Linked DNA regions of Homo sapiens: all the other regions are linked to region 1. Evidence: promoter capture Hi-C in 16 types of primary human blood cells and fetal thymus (Javierre and others, 2016). All regions are on one chromosome and are shown on one strand. The core of a region is centred on a gene start or on the middle of the fragment in contact, and the rest is flanking DNA. Distances in the headings are between cores, read along the strand shown.

The links. The method cuts DNA at HindIII sites, captures the fragments that hold promoters and counts their contacts. A CHiCAGO score of 5 or more calls a contact.
Region 2: a fragment that was not itself captured here is called in contact with the fragment with the promoter of OR1K1 in region 1 in 2 of 17 cell types (naive CD8 T cells and naive CD4 T cells); the score reaches 5.4 in naive CD8 T cells.
Region 3: a fragment that was not itself captured here is called in contact with the fragment with the promoter of OR1K1 in region 1 in 11 of 17 cell types (total CD8 T cells, M2 macrophages, naive B cells and 8 more); the score reaches 8.0 in total CD8 T cells.
Region 4: a contact is called between the fragment with the promoter of OR1J4 here and the fragment with the promoter of OR1K1 in region 1, in 5 of 17 cell types (M1 macrophages, M0 macrophages, endothelial precursors and 2 more). The highest score is 8.8, in M1 macrophages.

Annotation. Positions count from the first base shown.
Region 1 is chr9:122,797,771-122,803,102 of GRCh38, forward strand. OR1K1 (olfactory receptor family 1 subfamily K member 1) reads left to right here and starts at 2,353. Exons shown (of 1, transcript NM_080859.1): 1 at 2,353-3,303. The coding sequence starts at 2,353. The coding sequence ends at 3,303. RefSeq lists an enhancer at 5,161-5,332. The HindIII fragment of the contact is 11,918 bases long and covers 1-5,332 here.
Region 2 is chr9:122,395,162-122,400,493 of GRCh38, forward strand. PTGS1 (prostaglandin-endoperoxide synthase 1) reads left to right here. Exons shown (of 11, transcript NM_000962.4): 11 at 1-542. Among named protein-coding and RNA genes, the nearest start is that of PTGS1, 27 kb to the left of the region's middle. The HindIII fragment of the contact is 2,269 bases long and covers 117-2,385 here.
Region 3 is chr9:122,423,554-122,428,885 of GRCh38, forward strand. No RefSeq gene overlaps it. Among named protein-coding and RNA genes, the nearest start is that of OR1J1, 52 kb to the right of the region's middle. The HindIII fragment of the contact is 849 bases long and covers 2,367-3,215 here.
Region 4 is chr9:122,516,392-122,521,723 of GRCh38, forward strand. It overlaps OR1J4 (olfactory receptor family 1 subfamily J member 4), which reads left to right and starts at 2,750. Exons shown (of 1, transcript NM_001004452.1): 1 at 2,750-3,691. The coding sequence starts at 2,750. The coding sequence ends at 3,691. It also overlaps a transcript of OR1J2 not described here. The HindIII fragment of the contact is 966 bases long and covers 2,491-3,456 here.

The sequences.
Region 1 (5,332 bases), core at 1,103-3,602:
CATGGATGGGCACTGGGCAGAGTGCTCACACACAGTAAGCAGTCAATGAGAACATGAATGTGCATGATGGGTCACAGCAGCTGTGCATGGCGCTATGTCTCCATCAAGAGGAGTATGTGAATGATTGTCACCCTCTGGCCTTAGTGCCATTTTGTGATTGCATTTGGCCATGTGTGTATGTGTATGACGATCTTGGCTTCTGAATCCTGAGGTAATGGTTGTCTGCCTACTTTGCTGTGAATGCATGTGCTGGCTCCACATTTCTGTATATGACTGATTGTGCCTATGTATTTGCAGAGACCAGCTTGAGGATGCACATGTCTGCGTGCCTGCATGTGCGTTTCCAACTACATTTGAATGTTTCTACAAACATCTTTGTATATTTGAACGCTTCTTGGGACCAATTTAGACACAGGTCAGAGCAGGTCCATTTTCCAAAAGCAATTCTATAAACAGGTTTCCCCTTCCATCCTACCCAATCATCCTGATCCTCTTCCCCTCCAGGAAAGTGAGAAAGAATTAGGGGCTTAAGAAAAGATGCTTTAGAGGAAGCTAACGCCAGAGATTCTTCTTAACCAATGGAGGAAAAAAGGAATACGATAGGGTAGGGAGGTCCTTCATTGATTTTTTTTTAATAGAGAAAGATGTGGAAATAAATTAAAAGATCATTTCCCTGTAAAGGTGGTTTCAGCACAGTCTTCAGCAAACCTGTGCCCTAAAATTCCTCTCAGTTACTTCAATTCTCTTCTTACAGAATTGCCCAAGATTTCTGCAATGAAATTCAGACAGGAAAAAAACTGAGACATTGAAAACAAGTTGCCTCTCTCCTTAAGAGTCAAGTCGCTATGCCTGGGCAGATGTGTCCATCTGTCCACAGGAGTTTCTCACCCTGTGATGTGCATCTGCTTGGTGCTCAGTAAGTGTTTGATTTCATGGGGAAAGTTTTCAGGGATATGAGGAGTCATTCAGATTCTCTTGTTCTTTTTTTGTGTGTGTGTGAGATGGAGTCTCACTGTGCCACCCAGGCTGGAGTGCAGTGGCACGATCTTGGCTCACTGCAACCTCTGCCTCCTGGGTTCAAGATATTCTCCTGCCCCAGCCTCCCAAGTAGCTGGGATTACAGGCACGTGACACCACACCTGGCTAATTTTTGTATTTTTTTTTTTAGTAGAGATGGGGTTTCACCACATTGGCCAGGCTGGTCTCAAACTCCTGACCTCAGGTGATCCTCCTACCTTGGCCTCCCAAAGTGCTGGGATTACAGGCACGAGCCACTGCACCCGGCCTTGTTTTGTGTTTTAAGTCTGAAAATATCTGTATTCTTTACTCACACTTGAGTAGTATTTTTGCTGAGTGAAGAATTCCAAGTTCGAAATGCTTTTTTTCAGAATTTGAATATTGTTAAACTGTTCTATAATCTACTGTTGAATTGAAACATTTGATGGCAATCTAATTACATGGATATCATCAGTTCATTGCACCCCATGCCCTTAGGAAGTACTGGAGTCTCCTCTTCATTTCCAGTGTTCTAAAATTCCACTATTTGTGTCTAGGTGTTGTGAGTTCATATTCATTTCAATGTAAACATATGTGCTCTTCAGATTTTTTTTCTAGAGTTTCTTTCTTATGTTTCTCTCCTCCATCTTGGTTTGGTTTCATTTTTTCTTTTCCAAAATAAATGTCCATTGGCCAGATCTTTCTGTGTCGAACCTCACTCTGTTTCATCTTTTCTTTCATATTTTCCTCCTTCCCTGATCTACATCTTGTGCAATATCTTTTGTTCTATTTTTGCTTAAATCACAAACTATCAAAGTTGGACGTGACCTTGCAGATGAGTTACTTCAATTCTCTTATTTCGCAGGTTGAAAGTCTAAGGCCCCACAAGGTCAGGAGATCGAGAACATCCTGGCTAACACGGTGAAACCCCGTCTCTACTAAAAAATACAAAAAAAATTAGCCGGGCGTGATGGCGGGCGCCTGTAGTCCCAGCTACTCGGGAGGCTGAGGCAGGAGAATGGCGTGAACCCAGGAGGTGGAGCTTGCAGTGAGCTGAGATCGTGCCACTGCACTCCAGCCTGGGCGACAGAGCAAGACTCCATCTCAAAAAAAAAAAAAAAAAAAGAAAAGAAAATCTAAGGCCCAGAAAGGAAGAAGGTTCAGGGAGGTGAAATGACTTGCCCATAGTCATACCTGTGCCTAGGGCCAGGGCTACCTGACTCTAAACTCTTGATATTTTCCCATGGCCAGGAAGCCTTGAACAATTTATCCCCTCACCTTTTCCGTTAGACATCGGGGAGGTGACCCATCAATAGAAAGGAGCCCTTCAGGTTCCAGGCGAATAACCAGCCTGCCATGGAGGCTGCCAATGAGTCTTCAGAGGGAATCTCATTCGTTTTATTGGGACTGACAACAAGTCCTGGACAGCAGCGGCCTCTCTTTGTGCTGTTCTTGCTCTTGTATGTGGCCAGCCTCCTGGGTAATGGACTCATTGTGGCTGCCATCCAGGCCAGTCCAGCCCTTCATGCACCCATGTACTTCCTGCTGGCCCACCTGTCCTTTGCTGACCTCTGCTTCGCCTCCGTCACTGTGCCCAAGATGTTGGCCAACTTGTTGGCCCATGACCACTCCATCTCGCTGGCTGGCTGCCTGACCCAAATGTACTTCTTCTTTGCCCTGGGGGTAACTGATAGCTGTCTTCTGGCGGCCATGGCCTATGACTGCTACGTGGCCATCCGGCACCCCCTCCCCTATGCCACGAGGATGTCCCGGGCCATGTGCGCAGCCCTGGTGGGAATGGCATGGCTGGTGTCCCACGTCCACTCCCTCCTGTATATCCTGCTCATGGCTCGCTTGTCCTTCTGTGCTTCCCACCAAGTGCCCCACTTCTTCTGTGACCACCAGCCTCTCTTAAGGCTCTCGTGCTCTGACACCCACCACATCCAGCTGCTCATCTTCACCGAGGGCGCCGCAGTGGTGGTCACTCCCTTCCTGCTCATCCTCGCCTCCTATGGGGCCATCGCAGCTGCCGTGCTCCAGCTGCCCTCAGCCTCTGGGAGGCTCCGGGCTGTGTCCACCTGTGGCTCCCACCTGGCTGTGGTGAGCCTCTTCTATGGGACAGTCATTGCAGTCTACTTCCAGGCCACATCCCGACGCGAGGCAGAGTGGGGCCGTGTGGCCACTGTCATGTACACTGTAGTCACCCCCATGCTGAACCCCATCATCTACAGCCTCTGGAATCGCGATGTACAGGGGGCACTCCGAGCCCTTCTCATTGGGCGAAGGATCTCAGCTAGTGACTCCTGAGGGCAGGACCCCACTGAGGACAGACTGCATCACCCACACTGGCAACTGTTGAACGTGACCCTCTGTCCTCTGCTATGCTCAAAAATCATAACAGCTGTCATTTCCTGAGCACCTGCCCGGAAGCAGATCCTTGCCTGATCTCATTTTATTCCCACAGCCACCCAGGATGCAGATATTATGATCCGGTTTTACACACAAGAAAATTTGTCTTTAGGCTCAAAGATAAGAAGTGACTTTCCAGCCAGGCACAGCGGCTCACGCCTGTAATCCCAGCACTTTGAGAAGCCGAGGTGGTGGATCACCTGAGGTCGAGAGTTCAAGATCAGCCTGGCCAACATGGCGAAACCCTGTCTCTATTACAAATACCAAAATTAGCCAAGCATGGCGGCGCACAACTGTAATCCCATCTACTCGGGAGACTGAGGCAAGAGAATCACTTGAACCCAAAAGATGAAGATTGAAGTGAGCTAAGATTGTGCCACTGAGCTCCAGCCTGGGCAACAGAGCAAGACTCCATCTCAAAAAAAAAAGAAGTGACTTTCTCAAATTCACACAGTTCTTAGAAAGCAAAACCTGCACCCCTTCTGCCACATCATGCTCTTCTGATGATCACTCTTAGGCATTTAGAATGCATTCCACCATTTCCTACAGACCGAGGGCAATCCAGGAGGGTGTGACATCCGCAGAACATGCCTTGTGTGGATGAGCACTTTCTCTTCAGTCATATGGCCATGTGTTCTCAAATAAATTGACTTCTCAACTGGGACTGGAATAGAGAAATTCACACACTCATGTGTGAAGGGCCAGCCCCTCCTAATGAGCTCAGTGTGGCACACAGGAGGCCCTCTGCACATCTAATATGAATAAATGACTCTGTGTTCATACTAACATGCATTTAGAAGAAGTCCGTTCTTCTAATTCTTTGTTCTTTCCCTTGTTTGCTATCATGGCACCTGTTCTGCCCCACCTGGCATTCTGTAGAAGGAGCACGTTGTGGACACGCACAGTCATGAATAAACAAAGCAAAGCTGAGAAGGAGGAGGCATAGGTGTTAGGGGCAGATGGAGCAAGCATTGGATAAGTCTTTATCGTATGCCAGCACTTCACTTATTTTTACCCACAAAAAGTATGGGTACTCTTATTGCCACTTTATGAATGAGGAAACTGAGGCTCAAAGCTGGTAACCTAGTCAGTGTCAGAGCCAGAACAAGCCCTTATGCCACATGGGTCATGCAGGTGTGTTTTAATGGGCCCCATAGAATCCACACGCCAGGTTTTGGTGTCTCAGTGGAAGCACTTGCAGGAAGAAGTCTCAGACCAGGGCAGGTTCGCTGCCTCAAGTAAGGACACATTTTGGGGTCTGAAAAGGCCTCATGGTGCCCAAGTTTTTACCAAACAGGTATGTGAGGCAGGAGCTTTTAGGTCTCTGTTTCTCTAAGAAATCTGCACCCACTTCCCCATCCCCTAGTCCCAACTCCACTCCTACCCCCATTCCGCTGCTCCAGAGAGAAGGAGAGAGAGCTACAGCGATCCTAGAGCCAGGTTAGCAATAGCCCCTTCCAGATCACACAGGTGAGCTGCCACCGCCCAGTCCCAGAGCTGCTACACTATGCTGTTTAGATCAAAAAGGACCTTAAAGGTCTTTAGACTGGTAGCTTTAATCAAAAAAAAAAAAAAAAAAAAAAAAACCAAAACAAACAGAAAACAACAACAAAAACACGTTATTTACATAGAAACACAATCTGTAAAACAGGGTGGGGGAGAAGCCATGCAGTGTGGATGAGGGAGGGTGAAAGGAGGCCCAGAATCCACCGTCGATGCTTCTCCCCACCCCCACTTTGAAAGGTCTTTGATCAAACCGAACACCTTCACTTGATAAATGGGGAAACTGAGGCCCAGAGTGGTTAAGGGACCTGCTCAAGATCACACAAAGTCAGTGGCAAACTTCGGGCTTCCTTGTTCAACCTGCCAGTGCCCCAAAGCCTGGCCCTGCCATGACATAGAGACCATCCTTTCCCAGCCTCCCTTC
Region 2 (5,332 bases), core at 1-2,500, 400 kb before region 1:
GGTTCCAGAGGTATTCCTCTCTTAAATGCAAGTGCCTAGATTAGGTAGACTTTGCTTAGTATTGACAACTGCACATGAAAGTTTTGCAAAGGGAAACAGGCTAAATGCACCAAGAAAGCTTCTTCAGAGTGAAGAATCTTAATGCTTGTAATTTAAACATTTGTTCCTGGAGTTTTGATTTGGTGGATGTGATGGTTGGTTTTATTTGTCAGTTTGGTTGGGCTATAGCACACAGTTATTTAATCAAACAGTAATCTAGGTGTGGCTGTGAAGGTATTTTGTAGATGTGATTAACATCTACAATCAGTTGACTTTAAGTGAAAGAGATTACTTAAATAATTTGGGTGAGCTGCACCTGATTAGTTGAAAGGCCTCAAGAACAAACACTGCAGTTTCCTGGAAAAGAAGAAACTTTGCCTCAAGACTATAGCCATCGACTCCTGCCTGAGTTTCCAGCCTGCTAGTCTGCCCTATGGATTTGAAGTTTGCCAACCCCAACAATTGTGTGAATTAATTTCTAAAAATAAAGCTATATACAGCCATCCTTTGGTATTTGTGGGGGATTTGTTTCAGGATCTCTACAGATACCAAAATCTGTGGTTCCTCAAGTCCTTTATATGAAGTGGTATAGTATTTGCATATAACCTATGTGCAATCTCCTGTATAACTTCAATCATCTCTAGATTACTTATAATACCTAATACAGTGTAAATGCTAGTTGTTATACTGTATTTTTTCTTTGTATTATTTTTATTGTATTTGAATATTTTGATCTGCATTTGGTTGAATTCACAGATATGGAACCCATGGATATGGAGGATATGTGCACATATATTCAGGACTGAATATATATATTATACATATATATACACACAGAACTGAATATATATATATATATATACACACACACGACTGAATATATATATATATATATATATATATACACACAGGACTGAATATATATATATATATACACAGGACTGAATATATATATATATATACAAGACTGAATATATATATACATATACAAGACTATATATATATATTCAAGACTGACTATATATATATTCAAGGCTGACTATATATATTCAAGACTGACTATATATATATTCAAGACTGACTATATATATATATTCAAGACTGACTCTCTCTCTATATATTCAAGACTGAATATATATATATATATATATTTCTATCTCTCTAATAATACAAGAACAGAAAACCAAATACTGCATGTTCTCACTTATGCGTGGGAGATGAATGATGAGAATACGTGGACATATGGTGGGGAACAACACATGCTGAGGCCTGTCGGAGGGTGGGAGGTGGGCCATCAGGAAGAATAGCTAATGTTAATACCTAGCTGATGGGATGATCTGTGCAGCAAACTACCATGGCACACGTTTACCTGTGTAACAAACCTGCACATCCTACACGTGTAACCAATATATGTATATTATTATTCAAGTTCCAATAATCAAATAATACACAAACCACTGTATTATTTGATTATTGGAAATCAAATAATAATAATAATAATAATAATAATAATAATATACATATATTCTGTTGGTTCTAATTCTCTGGAGAACCCCGACTAATACAATGGGTGATTCATTCAGGACTCTCAATGCAAACAACAGAACATTCTCTAGCCTGTATAAGCAGGAAGGAATTTATTATAGGACATTACATAGCTCATGGAGCCACTGGGAGGACCAGGGAATTAGGCTTGGAGGGTTTGCACCTAGGAATGGTGGCCACTGTCCAGTGGAGATGCCTCTACTACTGCCATGGACACAGCATCTCAAATGACACCTTTGCTGCCCAAACCCCACTACTGCTGCCTTCCAAAACAGGCTGCTTCTACAGCCACTTTTGCTGGAAAATGGAATCTGTGTGATACTTGCTTCCTCTCTTTTCTCTACTTAGAATTAAAATTATCTTTATTTTGTGTCGGATTGGTGGAGCCCAGCTCATGTGTCTGTACTGCAGCTACAAGAAAGAATGGAAAGTGAGTTTTCTGGTTTGTGCCTTGAAAAGGAGGAACCCATGATAAGGAAAATTCCTCATACATAGGGAAGGTGTTCAAAGGGGCTGGGAAACGTGGAAAGTCTGCTTCAGTGAATCTGAATTTTCTTAGTTCTGTTCTGCCTCTGTGGGCCCTATCCCTAGAATGTTACAAAGACCATCACAATGGCCTTACTGTTGACCTGGTAGCAGCTCGATATAGTTGCAAGCAAAGAGCTTAAGAAGTGAAGTTATGTAATTATAGAACAACAGAGAAACAAAGACTGTTGGGTACACACAGTCCACTCTTTTAGTAATTTTTGAGTTAAAAAAAGTGTCAGAAACGCAGGAGGCAGAGCAAGAAGGCAGAATAGAAGCTTCTACCAATTGTCTTCCCCACAGGAACACCAAATTTAACAACTGTCTACACAAAAAATGCACCTTCATTAGAACCAAAATTCAAGTGAATGATTGTAGTACCTGGTTTTAACTTTATATTACTGAAAGAGGCACTGAGGAGGGTAGGAAGGATGGTCTTGAATTGCCAGAGCCATCCCTCCCCGATCCCTGGCAGCAGCCACATGGCACAGAGAATCTGTGTAGGGAGAGTGTAGTGGTTGTAGGACTTTGTGTTAGAACTCAGTGTTGCCTTGTTACACTGGAAAGCAACACCAGGCAGAACTCAGCTAATACCCATGAGGGAGAATTTAGATCAGCCCTAGCCAGAGGGGAAGCATCCATCCCAGTTGCTGAATGGGCTAAAGGGCTCTGGGGTTCTAAATAAACTTGAAAGGCAGTATAGGCCACAAGGATTACAACTCCTAGGAAAGTCTGATCTGCGCTTGGAGCCAGTGGACTTGAGGGGCATGTGACCTGCTGCGATAGCCAAGGGAGTGCTTGTGCCACCCCTCTCCCAACCCTAGGCAGTGCAACTCACAGCTCTCAAAGAGACTCCTTCCTTCAGCTTGAGGAGAGAAGAGTAAAGAGGACTTGTCTTGCCACTTGGATACCAGCTCAGCCACAGTAGTTTAGGGCACCGGGCAGAGTCCTGAGGCACCCATTCCAGGACCTAACTTCCAGATGACATTTCTAGACATATCCTGGGCTTATATGGGCCATATAAGGCAGAAGGGAACCTGTTGCCTTGAATGAAAGGATCTAGTCCTGATAGTATTCACCACCTGCTGACTAAAGTGCCCTTGGGCCCTGAATAATCAGCAGCAGTAGCCAGGTAGTACACACTATGGCCCTTGAGTGAGATTCTGAGATGTGCTGACTTCAGGTGTGACCCAGCACATTCCCAGCTGTGGTGGCTATGGGGAGAGACTCCTTCTACTTGAGAAAAGCAGGGGGAAAAGTAAAGGGGATTTCATCTTGCAGCTTAGGTACTAGCTCGGCCACAGTGGGGCAGAGCACCAAGTGGGCTCTCAGTATCCCTGATTCCAGGCCTTGGCTCTCGCACAGCATTTCTGGACCTGACCTGGGCCAGAGGGGAGACCACTGCCCTGATACGTGAGTCCTAGGTCTGGCAGCATTCACCACAAGCTTCCTGAAGAGCTCTTGGCCTTGTGTGAACATTGGTGGTAGCCAGGCAGTACTCCCCATGGGCCTGTGGTGGTGCTGGCCATGGGGAGAGACTCCTCTGCCTGTGGGAAGGGGAGGGATGAGTGGGAAAGACTTGACTTGTAGCTTTGTCTGCAGCTCAGCTGCAGTAGAATAGAACACAAGGCAGATTCTTAAGATTTTCAACTCCAGGCTCTGGTCCCCAAACAGCATCTACGGACCTGCTTGGGGGAACTCGCTGCCCTGAAGGGAAGGACACAAGCTTGGCTGACTTACTGCCTGCTAACTGCAAAGCCCTAAAGCCTTGAGTAAACAAAGGTGGTGGTAGCCAGGTAGTGGTTATAATGGGCCTTGGGTAAGAAACAGTGCTGTGCTGGCTTCAGGTCTGACCTAGTGCAGTCCCAGTGGTGGTGGCCACAGGGGTGCTTGTGCCACCCCTCCCCCAGTTGTAGGCAGCTCAGCACAGAGACAGAGAGACTCTGTCTGTTTGGGAGAAAGTAAGGGAAGAGAACAAGAATATCTGCCTGGTAATCCAGACAATTCTTCCAGATCTTATCCAAGACCATCAAGTGGTACCTCTACAAGTCTGCAAGAGCCACAGCATTACTGGGCTTGGGGTGCCTCCTAATGCTGATATGACTATGGTGACCAAAAACTTAGATGACAACACCCAAGTCCCTTCGAATACCTGGAAAGCCTTCCCAAGAAGGCTTTCCCAAGAAGCCCAGACTGCAAAGACTACCACAAATATCTAACTTTTCAATGTCCAGACACCAGTGAACATCCACAAGCATCAATACCACTCAAGAAAACATGACCTTACTAAACAAACTAAATAAGTCATCAGGGATTTATCCTAGAGAGATAGAAATATGTGATCTTTCTCTATCTCTCAGAGAGAGGTCATATATCTACACCTCTAGGCTTTTCAGACAGAGAATTTGAAATAGCTATTTTGAGGAAACTCAGTGAAATACAAGATAATACAGAGAAGGAATTCAGAATCCTATCAGATCAATTTAACCAAGATATTGAAATAATTAAAAAGAATCAAGCCGAAATTCTGAAGCTGAAAAATGCAACTGACTACTAAAGAATGCATCAGAGTCTCTTAATAGCAGAATTGATCAAAGAGAAGAAAGAATTAGTAACATTTCTATGTGAAAACAGTGAAAATTCTGAAAATAGTAATCCCATTTACGATAGCTACAAATAAAATTAAGTACCTGGAAATTAATCAAAGAAGTGAAAGATCTTGACAATGGAAAATAAAACACTATGAAAGAAATTGGAGAGGACACACGAAAAACAGAAAAATATTCCATATTCATAGATTGGAAGAATCAACATTGTTAAAATGTCCATACAACCCAAAGCAGTCTATAGATTCAATACAATCCTTATCAAAATACCAATGACATTCTCCATATAAACAGAAAAAACAATCCTAGAATTTATAGAGAACCACGAAAGACCCAGAATAGCCAAAGCTATCCTAAGCAAAAAGAACAAAACTGGAGGAATCGCATTACCTGACTTAAAATTATACTACAGAGATATAGTAACCAAAATAGCATTATACTGGCATAAAAACAGACACATAGACTAATGAAACAGACTACTGAACCCAGAAATAGATCTATACACCTACAGGAACTCATTTTTGATAAAGTTGTTAAGAACATACATTGGGAAAAGGATAGTTAATCTTCAATAAATGATGCTGGGAAAACTGAATATCCATATGCAGAAGAATGAA
Region 3 (5,332 bases), core at 1,541-4,040, 370 kb before region 1:
AATTGCAACAATAATCTGATGTTAAAAGTACAATGGAGAAAATTATTAATCCCACTTGAACCCAAGGATAAGGAAGGATGCTCAGAGAAAGCTATAGGGAAGTTAGGCCTTGAAGGATAGCCAACTAGGCATTGACTGAGTGAAGAGAAGGAATGATATTGCAATAACCTACAAAAACATAGAGGTGTGAAGAAGTGTTAAGTGGTCTGGGAATGCAGCATGGTTCAGGATTTGGTATAGGGCAGAGATGGAGAATATATAGCTTTCACACTACAATCTCCCCATTCCACATTCATGGCAGACATTGTTAATCTATCACAGAGCATTATTTCTCATGGGGATTGATTTGAACCTTTGAATCATTCTCAACTTAGCACTCCAGGCAGCTACTCTTAGTTAAATAGTGGCAGGGTAAGAGATGAAACCTATTTGTTATTTCTGGGAATAGAGAGAATGATAGATCATGAAGAGAAATGAGGCTAGGGAGTTAGGCAGGGTCCAGCTGGGAAGATGCTTTTGATAATGGTATTGGTTGGTGATCAGAACCTCTTGAGGAAGCTAGGAGGCTTTGAGTGTAAAATATCAGAAAAGTTTCAGTGCGCATGTAGCTGCCTCTGTGGGGTGTGCTCCATTCTTGTTAACGAGGCCCCAGAGAAACTTCATTTGAGAATCTCCTGGCTCATCTGCTTCAATAGTAATTAGCCATGCAGAGAAGATCTCTGTGGTTTAATTAAGTGGCATATGTGGTTAAAAGTTTGTCTTCTTCTAAGGGAGCAGTAATTAAAAATTAAGCGTAGTCTCTCCATGGATCAGTATCTTCATTGGAAACACGGCCTTTGGCTGTCACCAATTCAGAATACTGGAGAAACAGGCACTTCTCTCTCAGGCTCGTCTGCCCCCCTTCCAAGTCCAAAAAGTAGGACCTACCTGGGTCTGATTGGGAATGACACCTAGAATTGAGGGACCAAGTTGGGGGAGATGGGTCTTGCATGGCCATAGTCAACCTCAGTGATATCCTCTGTGTTGAAGGAGGCATAACATTATAGAATGAGATTGGTGAGAGCACTGAGGTAGTAGTGCACCTGATGTATTTAAGGAATAACAGACCAGTATGGCTGGACTGGGCTGAATGAATAAAGAGGGGCAGGAGCTGAGGTCAGAATGGCCACAGGACCAGTTCACATAGTCTTGTAGTCAGATTATTGCAAAGATTTTGGCTTTAATGTGAGCCAACTTTATCAATATTTTGTTTTTGCTACATTTTGATCTTATTTAGAAAATCTTTCCATAGCCTAAGTTCTAAAATATAACTTTTATTTTCTACAAAGTGTTTTTTCTAAAATTAAGTTTTCTAAAGCATAATTTATGAACAATAGCATTTATTCATAGGAAGTATTCCATTTGATGAGTTTTGACAACAGTATGCCGTTATGTAACAACTACAATGAAGATACACAATATTCTTATTGCCACAAAAGTTCTCTCCTACCCATTGGTAGTCACTATCCTTCTGCCACTCCTAGCCCCAGGCAAACGGTGATCTGATTTCCTGCTTCCTTTTCCTGAATGTCATACAATTAGAATGATATAAGATGTAGCCTTTTTTTGGTCCAGCTTCTTTGATTTTGCATACTTTTTTTGAGATTCTTCCAAGTTGTTGCACATATAAGTAATTCGTTCATTTTTATTGCTGCATATGGATGTACCACAATTTGGTTATCCATTCATCATTGGTGGACTGTCTCCACTGTTTGGCTACTGTGAATAAAGCTGCTCTAAACATTGGCATACAGTTCTTTGTGTGAACATATGGTTCCTTGTCTTTTGGGTAAATACCTAGGGATAGGATTGCTGGGTTGTATGGTAGGTATGTGTTAAACTTTTAAAGAAACTGCTAAACTGTTTTCAAAAAGGGCTGCTCCATTTTGCAATGGATACAATTTCCAGGTGCTTCTCTCACCAGAGCTTGGTATTAGCCATTTTAGTGATGTGTAGTGGTATTTCATTGTGGTTTTGATTTGCATTTCCCTAATGACCAGTGGTGTCAAGCATCTTTTCATGTGCTTATTTGCCATCTGTATATCTTCTTTGATTAAGTGTCTGTTCAGATCCTTTGCCCACTATTTGAGCTATTTGTCTTATAATTGATTGTGAGAGTTCTTTTTTCTAGATAAAGTCTTTATTAGGTATGTGTTTTGCAAACATTTTCTCCCAGCCTGTGGCTTGTCTTTACATTCTCTTAACAGTATCTTTCAAACAGCAGAAGTTTAAAATTTTGATGATGCTGAATTTAGCAGTTTTTTTCTATTATGGTTTTTGCTTTTTGTTTCTTATGTGAAAATTATTTGCCTAATCCAAGGTTACAAAGCTTTTCTTTTGTTTTCTTCTATAAGTTTTACAGTTTTAGCTCTTACATTTAAGTCCATGATCCATTTTGAATTAATTTATATATATGGTGTGAGTTAAGGATTGATTTTTTTATATGGATATCCAATTGTTCCAGCATCAGTTGTTGAAAAACTGTCCTTTCTCTATTGCATTGGAATTTTTGTCAAAAATCAATTGACCATATAACTGTAGATCTATTTCTGAACTCTTGTTTGATTGAGCTTTAAAACCAAAAGTACACTGTCTTGATTATTATAGCTTAGTAAGTCTTGAATTGCATGGTGTGGGTCTTCTTTCCTCCCCCAAAGTTATTTAGGTTCTTCTAGGTTTTTTGCCATTTCCATATAAATTTTATTTTAAAATTTTCAACTTACAAAAGAGCCCAATAGAATTTTGATTGAGATTTCATTGAACCAGTAGGTCAGGAATTGCCAAAAAAACACTTTCACAGAAACACATAGAATAATGTTTGACCAAACACCTTGTTACCATGGCTCAGCCAATTTGATACATCAAATCAACTATATAGTCTCTCTCCTGATGAATATCACCGTCTTTACCTTCAGTCTCTATTAATGGACTACATTTTTACCAATATTCATAACAAAAAATTAGAATTTTACAGTTTATCTGTAATTAGAAATATGTCTTCATACTTATAAAAGAAAGAATGTTTATGGTCAGGGCATGAGATCCTTTATGAAGATGCAGATTTAAAAAAATCTATACTTTTGCTATCCAGAGGTAACCACTGTTTCTACATTTTGGTAGATTTCCTCAAATTTATTTATATTTATGCCAAGTCTTATTCCTGAAGAATTTAAGGAAGCTTGGAAATACGTATAAAATACAAGATAAGATAAATGGAAAATGAGGTTAGAAAAAGAACAAAAGGGGGGATAAACAAGGGTGGAGACATAAAATTGAGCCAGGAATGACTCTGAAAATGCAGATTATGATGACTGTTGTTATGGGTGGGCCTCAGATTTGGCTCAGGCTTTCTGGTCAGTCACACAGTTCACTGGGACCAAAAGTAAAAATAAACCACTTGATTAGGTGAAATTATATCATCTGCGGTTCTAAGAACAGACACATTGCATGGGGTTTCTTTTAATCCGTCTTAATGTAGGCTTTGGCAATCAAATTGGGGTGTAAAAATTCACAGTAAACAATAGCTCAGAGGCAAAAAGAATGCTGTCTAGGTGCTCAGATTTCCAGTGGTTTGGGTGGACAACATATTGGATTTTAGTCTTGCAGGTAGGTATGGATGACCTGCATGTCCTTTGAGCAAGCTTCCCTAAATATATTTTCTTTTAGTTAAACTTTTGGTAAACACTGAGTATCAGTGACCACCAACTAATAGTCCCTCGTTGATACCTAAGCTGCGGCTGGTGTCTATTATCAATCAAGTAGAGGTGAATCCTATTTAGAGTTGGCAATCAAACAACACACTAGTATTTAGTGCAGGGCTTTCAGTCAGACAGATGTTTCAGATTCTAACTCCATAACTCAACTAACTGTGCAGTAATAAACAAGTTAAAAATTTCACCAAGTCTCCAGGTTCTCATCTATAAAATGTGAATAACATCAGTATCTGTCTTGTAGGGTTGTCGTTGGGATTAAATATGTTTACACAAGTAAAGTATGTAACACAATAACAAGAGTATAGTAAGTGTTCAATAAATGATATTATTATTATCTTTATAAAGCTGAGGAGACTAATGAGGACTTGTGCCTAGAAATAAGGCCATCAGACATCTGCTTCCAGGTGAGCTGAGACAGCACCCACCGAACGTGTTCCAGGACCCAAATAAAATCTTAACCTTAAACTACGTAACTTTTGAATGAACTCCCAGATTCCAGTGTATTCTACACCAAGGCATCTCAAGTGTTAGTCTGTGGATCAGTGTTTGTCCATAATGAAGTTTTCATGCATGAACTGAAAAAAAAAAAAAAAAACAACCCTGCAGAATTGGCTCTGTTCCCAGTACTCTTCTCTATCTTTAGGTTAATTTATATTTCTTGTAGAAAGCATTTAGTTGGAACTTTTTAAAACCATGGTGATAATCTTTGTTTTTTAAGCCTCTGGGAAGGAGGTAGTTAGAATATCTGCGTTTGATGTAATTGGTGATAGTTTTGAGTTTAAACCTACTTTTTAATTTTGGCCTTTCTTTTCTTTTCTTTTTTTCTTTCTTTCTTTCTTTTTTTCTTTCTTTCTTTCTTCTTTCTTTCTTCTTTATTCCTTCCTTCCTTCCCCCTTCCTTCCTTCCTTCCTTCCTTCCTTCTCTCTCTCTCTCTCTCTCTTTCTTTCCTTTCTTTCTTTCTTCAGAACCTCACTCTGTCGCCCAGGCTGGAGTGCAGTGGTGCAATCTCTGCTCGCTGCAGCCTCTGTCTCCCGGGTTCGAGTGATTCTCCTGCCTCAGCCTCGCGAGTAGTTGGAATTAAAGGTGCGCACCACTACACCCAGCTAATTTTTGTATTTTTAGTAGAGATGGGCTTTCACAATGTTGGCCAGTCTGATCTCAAACTGCTGACCTCAGGTGATCTGCCTGCCTTGGCCTCCCGAAGTGCTAGGATTATAGACGTGAGCCACCGCACTCAGCCTTGGCCTTTGTTTTCTATTTGTTGTGTATGCTTTTCGTTCATCTGTTTTTCCTTTCTTGCCTCCCTTTGGGTGGATTGATTATTATTTTTTAAAGTATTCTCTTTTATCTCCTCTTTATCTCTTTTTAGTTATGCCTCTGTGTTTGTGATTACTCTAGAGATTATAATCTTCACTTTCAACTATCACAGTCTACCTTCAAAAGATGTTCTACCAAATTACAAATAATGTAAGCACCTCATAACAGTACACTTGTGATTCCTCTTCCCAGCCTTTGTACTCTTAATATCATGTTTTATTTCTACAGATGTCATAAACCACATGATCCATTGTTATCATTTC
Region 4 (5,332 bases), core at 1,500-3,999, 280 kb before region 1:
CTCCCGGGTTCACGCCCTTCTCCTGCCTCAGCCTCCCAAGTAGCTGGGACTACAGGCGCCCGCCACTACGCCCGGCTAATTTTTTGTATTTTTAGTAGAGACGGGGTTTCACCGTTTTAGCCGGGATGGTCTCGATTTCCTGACCTCGTGATCCGCCCGCCTCGGCCTCCCAAAGTGCTGGGATTACAGGCGTGAGCCACCGCGCCCGGCCCATACATGGTCTTTACATAGAATTTATGCAGATAGAAATAGGCATGGCTGAATTGGATTCAGGGGGCTTTATCAAAATCCTAAATCCCATGGATTAAATAGATTTACAAGTTCAGGAAGGAGTCATCTAATTGATATAGCATGAGAGAAACCAGAAGAGAATGGAGAAGGAGGGGGAGAAGTCCAGAATAGTGAGATATCTGAGCCATCATTCTCTAGGGTGTGGTTGGATGCTGCCTTTCTGCCCAACTTCATTATTGCTGTTTCTGGCCTTTGCCTGCATCAGGTCACGATCTCATGATGAAGTGGCCTTGTGGCACCTGAACTCTGCCAGTATCTGCCTGTTGAAAGGAGTGGGCAATCAGGAGGGAGAAATAAAGGAGACTCAGGAAATGGCAGGTGAGAAACTGATATAAATTGGTTCAGATTGTATGCAGTCATTCTTCACAAATGTTTTCTTATTAATATTCACAATATTCTCATGACTTAGGCTCATAGTCTCATCTCCAGATTAGAGATGAGAAAACTGAAGCTCAGGCCAACTGGATCACTTCTCCAGAACTCACAAATATGAAGATATGAAGTGATGTTGCCAGGACTTGAATCTAGGGCTAATTGCAATGCTTTTGTCAGTACAACATACTACCCTCAGACACTAGGCTCTATCCTTAAGGTCACAGCCCCAGGGAGCCTTAAAATGCTGGAGTGAGCAGGTGCAGCCGGGGAACCTGGGCCAGGCATTCTTGCCCCTTTTCTCTATGGGTCCATTCGGAACTCTGTTATGTTGGCTGCCTTTTGGTAAGTTTCAAAGGAAGGATGGTATTCTCATATGAAATAGGAGTATGCTCAACTCACCAGCTTAAAGAAGCAAAGAATTTTAAGCCTATCCTTAACCTGTACAAAGCTCTTCTGAATTTTTCTCCCAATTAAGAACTGTTATAATGAAATCCTCACATTTTCTATTTACTTAGTATACGTTGGTATATATATTAGGCATTTGGCATTGCTTTTTGACTTAAAGGGAACTTTTCAATTAAGACACAGTGGCACTATAAACTCATTCCTACTGGCCTTGCAGGATTTGGTAACTTAGGTTTAGAATATCTTTTTGAGGTGTTTTTTTTTTCTTATGTTCCAGGGTACATGTGCAGGATGTGCAGGTTCGTTACACAGGTAAACGTGTGCCATGGTGGTTTGCTGCACCTATCAACCCCATCACCTAGGTATTAAGCCTGGCATTCGTTAGCTCTTTTTCCTGATGCTCTCACCCCCTCAAGCTCCCTAGACAGGTCCCAGTGTGTATTGTTCTCCTCCCTGTGTTCTCATTGTTCAGCTCTCACTTATAAGTGAGAACATGTGTTGTTTGGTTTTCTGTTCCTGCATTAGTTTGCTGAGGATAATGGCTTCCAGCTCCATCCATGTCCCTGCATAGGACATGGTCTCATTCCTTTTTATGTATGTTCATTGCAGCACTATTCCCAATAGCAAAGACATGGAATCAACTCAAATGTCCATCAATGATAGACTGGATAAAGAAAATGTGGCACATATATGCCATGGCTTTAGAATATTTTAATGGGTAGATAGTGGCTGTGGAGGAAGCTGGCATATTTTTCTCATTCCTGATTTTAATGGAAATGCTTTAAAATGTCTCCACTAGGTATGGTGTTTACTGTATTATTTAGTTTACTGAGTGTCTTAGTCGGTTGGGCTGCTATAGCTGGGTGACTTTAAACAGCAGACATTTATTTGTTACAGTTCTGGAGCCTGGGAAGCCCCAGATCAAGGTACCAGCAGATTTGGTTTCTGGTGCGGGTCCACTTTCTGGTTAGCAGATGGCTGCCTTCCTGCTGAGTCCTCACATGGCAATGCCAGAGACACTCTTGTGTTTCTTCTTATAAGGGCAATAATCCCATTCATGGGGTTCTACCCTCATGACCTAATTACCTCCTGAAGCTCTCACCTTTAAATATTTTGTGTAAGATTTACTTTTTTTATGGCAGTGATATTGTAATCAATAGACAAGTTTTTTTTCTCATCAACTTTATACATAATGAAAACTTTGGCTGTTTATCTTTGATCCAATTTCTTTTGGATATGTGTTATGGAAACTTCATCCCTATATGTTGCTTACTAATAGATTTTGAAGTCAAATTTTAAAAAGTTCAATATGTTACAACATGAAGGCTCATGACTAGCCTGATGATTGTTTTTAAAAGTACATAAACAATGGAAATTGGAAAGACGTTATCTTACGATCCATCTGCTAATACGGTGTGAAGCTTTCTCTTTACTGACTAGACATGGCTGGTCTTCTCTTCTATTTCAAACCCTCTACTCTCTTGGCGAATTATCCCATTTTGAGTGATAAAACCATCTACTTGAAATGATTTTTTGTAGGGACATAGCAATGTAGACAGACATTGGCATATTCATCAGTAGCAAGGATCTTATTCTTATCTGCTGCTGTAAATCAACATTTGTTTGTTTCTGCCTTTTTCAATGTCCCTCTATTTCCAGCAGAGAGAAGACTGTCAGCATGAAGAGGGAGAATCAGAGCAGTGTGTCTGAGTTCCTCCTCCTGGACCTCCCCATCTGGCCAGAGCAGCAGGCTGTGTTCTTCACCCTGTTCTTGGGCATGTACCTGATCACGGTGCTGGGGAACCTGCTCATCATCCTGCTCATCCGGCTGGACTCTCACCTTCACACCCCCATGTTCTTCTTCCTCAGCCACTTGGCTCTCACTGACATCTCCCTTTCATCTGTCACTGTCCCAAAGATGTTATTAAGCATGCAAACTCAGGATCAATCCATTCTTTATGCAGGGTGTGTAACTCAGATGTATTTTTTCATATTTTTCACTGATCTAGACAATTTCCTTCTCACTTCAATGGCATACGATCGGTATGTGGCCATCTGTCACCCCCTCCGCTACACCACTATCATGAAAGAGGGACTGTGTAACTTACTAGTCACTGTGTCCTGGATCCTCTCCTGTACCAATGCCCTGTCTCACACTCTCCTCCTGGCCCAGCTGTCCTTTTGTGCTGACAACACCATCCCCCATTTCTTCTGTGATCTTGTTGCCCTACTCAAGCTCTCATGCTCAGACATCTCCCTCAATGAGCTGGTCATTTTCACAGTGGGACAGGCAGTCATTACTCTACCACTAATATGCATCTTGATCTCTTATGGCCACATTGGGGTCACCATCCTCAAGGCTCCATCTACTAAGGGCATCTTCAAAGCTTTGTCCACCTGTGGCTCTCACCTCTCTGTGGTGTCTCTGTATTATGGCACAATTATTGGACTGTATTTTCTCCCCTCATCCAGTGCCTCCAGTGACAAGGACGTAATTGCCTCTGTGATGTACACGGTGATCACCCCATTGCTGAATCCCTTCATTTATAGCCTAAGGAACAGGGACATAAAGGGAGCCCTGGAGAGACTCTTCAACAGGGCAACAGTCTTATCTCAATGACATTTACTCTTCTTTATAACAGACATATGTACTGACCTATTTCCAGATCATAGATCCTTACTTCTGATCCCAGCAAGGGATAAGTGCTCAGTAACTCTCTGATGACTTGAATTGCATCCTGTTACAGTTATTCTCCCTTTTCCTCTTTAGTGCAAATTGTGAATTCTGAGTTTACATAATTGTTTATTTATCTTGCCTATTAGATTCAGAAATTACATAGTTAACAGAACTTAAATCCTTCATTTTATTTCCTGGAAATTTATTTGTTCTTAGGAATTGTTTAAATATGTTGACTAACAGGATTCCCTTGCCATAGAAAAGTTGAAGGATTGGGTACTTGTAAAGGCATTTCCCTTTCTTTCTTCCCATTCAGTTCTCTTCTCACATTTTTTATTGTTGTTGCTGATGGTGGTGGGTAAGGAGAAGAAACTATATAGTACCCTTTACAGATCCAAAAAGCTATTCACTGTCATAAGTTCAGCTGTTCCACTTCAGAACTTGAGGTTCCTCTTCTAGACTACAATAACTTTCATTCAACAGTTCACTTTCAGACCAATGTTTATGAAGCTTTCTGACTACACATGTGAGCTTCAATCACGCCGCAGACTTACTCCAGGTAATGAATGAGAAGAACAAAAAAGTCTTCACAGTCAGGAGCCTTCTGTTGCCGTCACTAAATTTGATCCTTTTCCCATTCAGTGTCTTCGTTGTCTTTCTTATTGAAAAGCATTTCTACTCAGCTTAATGGCCCCTAGTTTGTATTATATGCCCAAGTCATCTTTTATCTTTTTCTTCTATCTTCTATGGTCTCCGCCATCCAGTGAAGGGCATATAGGTCTCTTTTTTCATTCCTCTACTTAAAGATAAACAGAACTACAAATGCTTCTGAGAAGCAGCAATGTGTAGCTGCAAGAGAAGAATATTTGGAAAGCTAGATCTCATTTGTAATCTCTATATACCAGGGTGGTGGCTGCGTGGCCTCAGACAATTCACCCAATTCCTTTGAACCTCAATTTCTTCTTCTGTATAGGTGAAAAAAGTTCTGCAACACCTAACATATTTTATTTGAAGTAAATGCAGTAATAAATTGGGCTTAACACTACAGCTGACCAAGAATAATGAATGTGAATTTTCTCTACCTTCTCCATCAGAGATGAGTTTTGAAGCAGAACTTGTGCAGACACTCCTGAATTATGGTGACCATGGGCAGCTTGTCATGTTGGTTATATTCCCAATTCAAAAGCAATAACCTGCCCTAGGACACAGCAACATATCTGTTCTGGCTTGAGCTAGAACCAAATAACTAAAGGGCAATGAACAAGTGAGTTCATGTGTGGGTAGGTAAGGAAAGACAGATCAGAAAAAGACCTTACTCTTCACTTGTTTGATATTGACTCAAAGAGTGATCCTTCATCGGGGGCTCATGTAGCTGCCTTTTGGCATCCAGTCCTTTGTAGAACAAGAAAGAGTGCCACCCCCACTCCTTGCTGCAAGCACAGGGTCACTTTGTTTACAGGCTTAGCCCCGACCTTTTCCAGAGCCAAAACCTGAACAGGGATAGAATCTTTATTGTTGGTTTATTGTTGGTCTAGGTAAAGCATGCCTTGATAGCCTCAGCACAATCATGACCTGCTGTACACT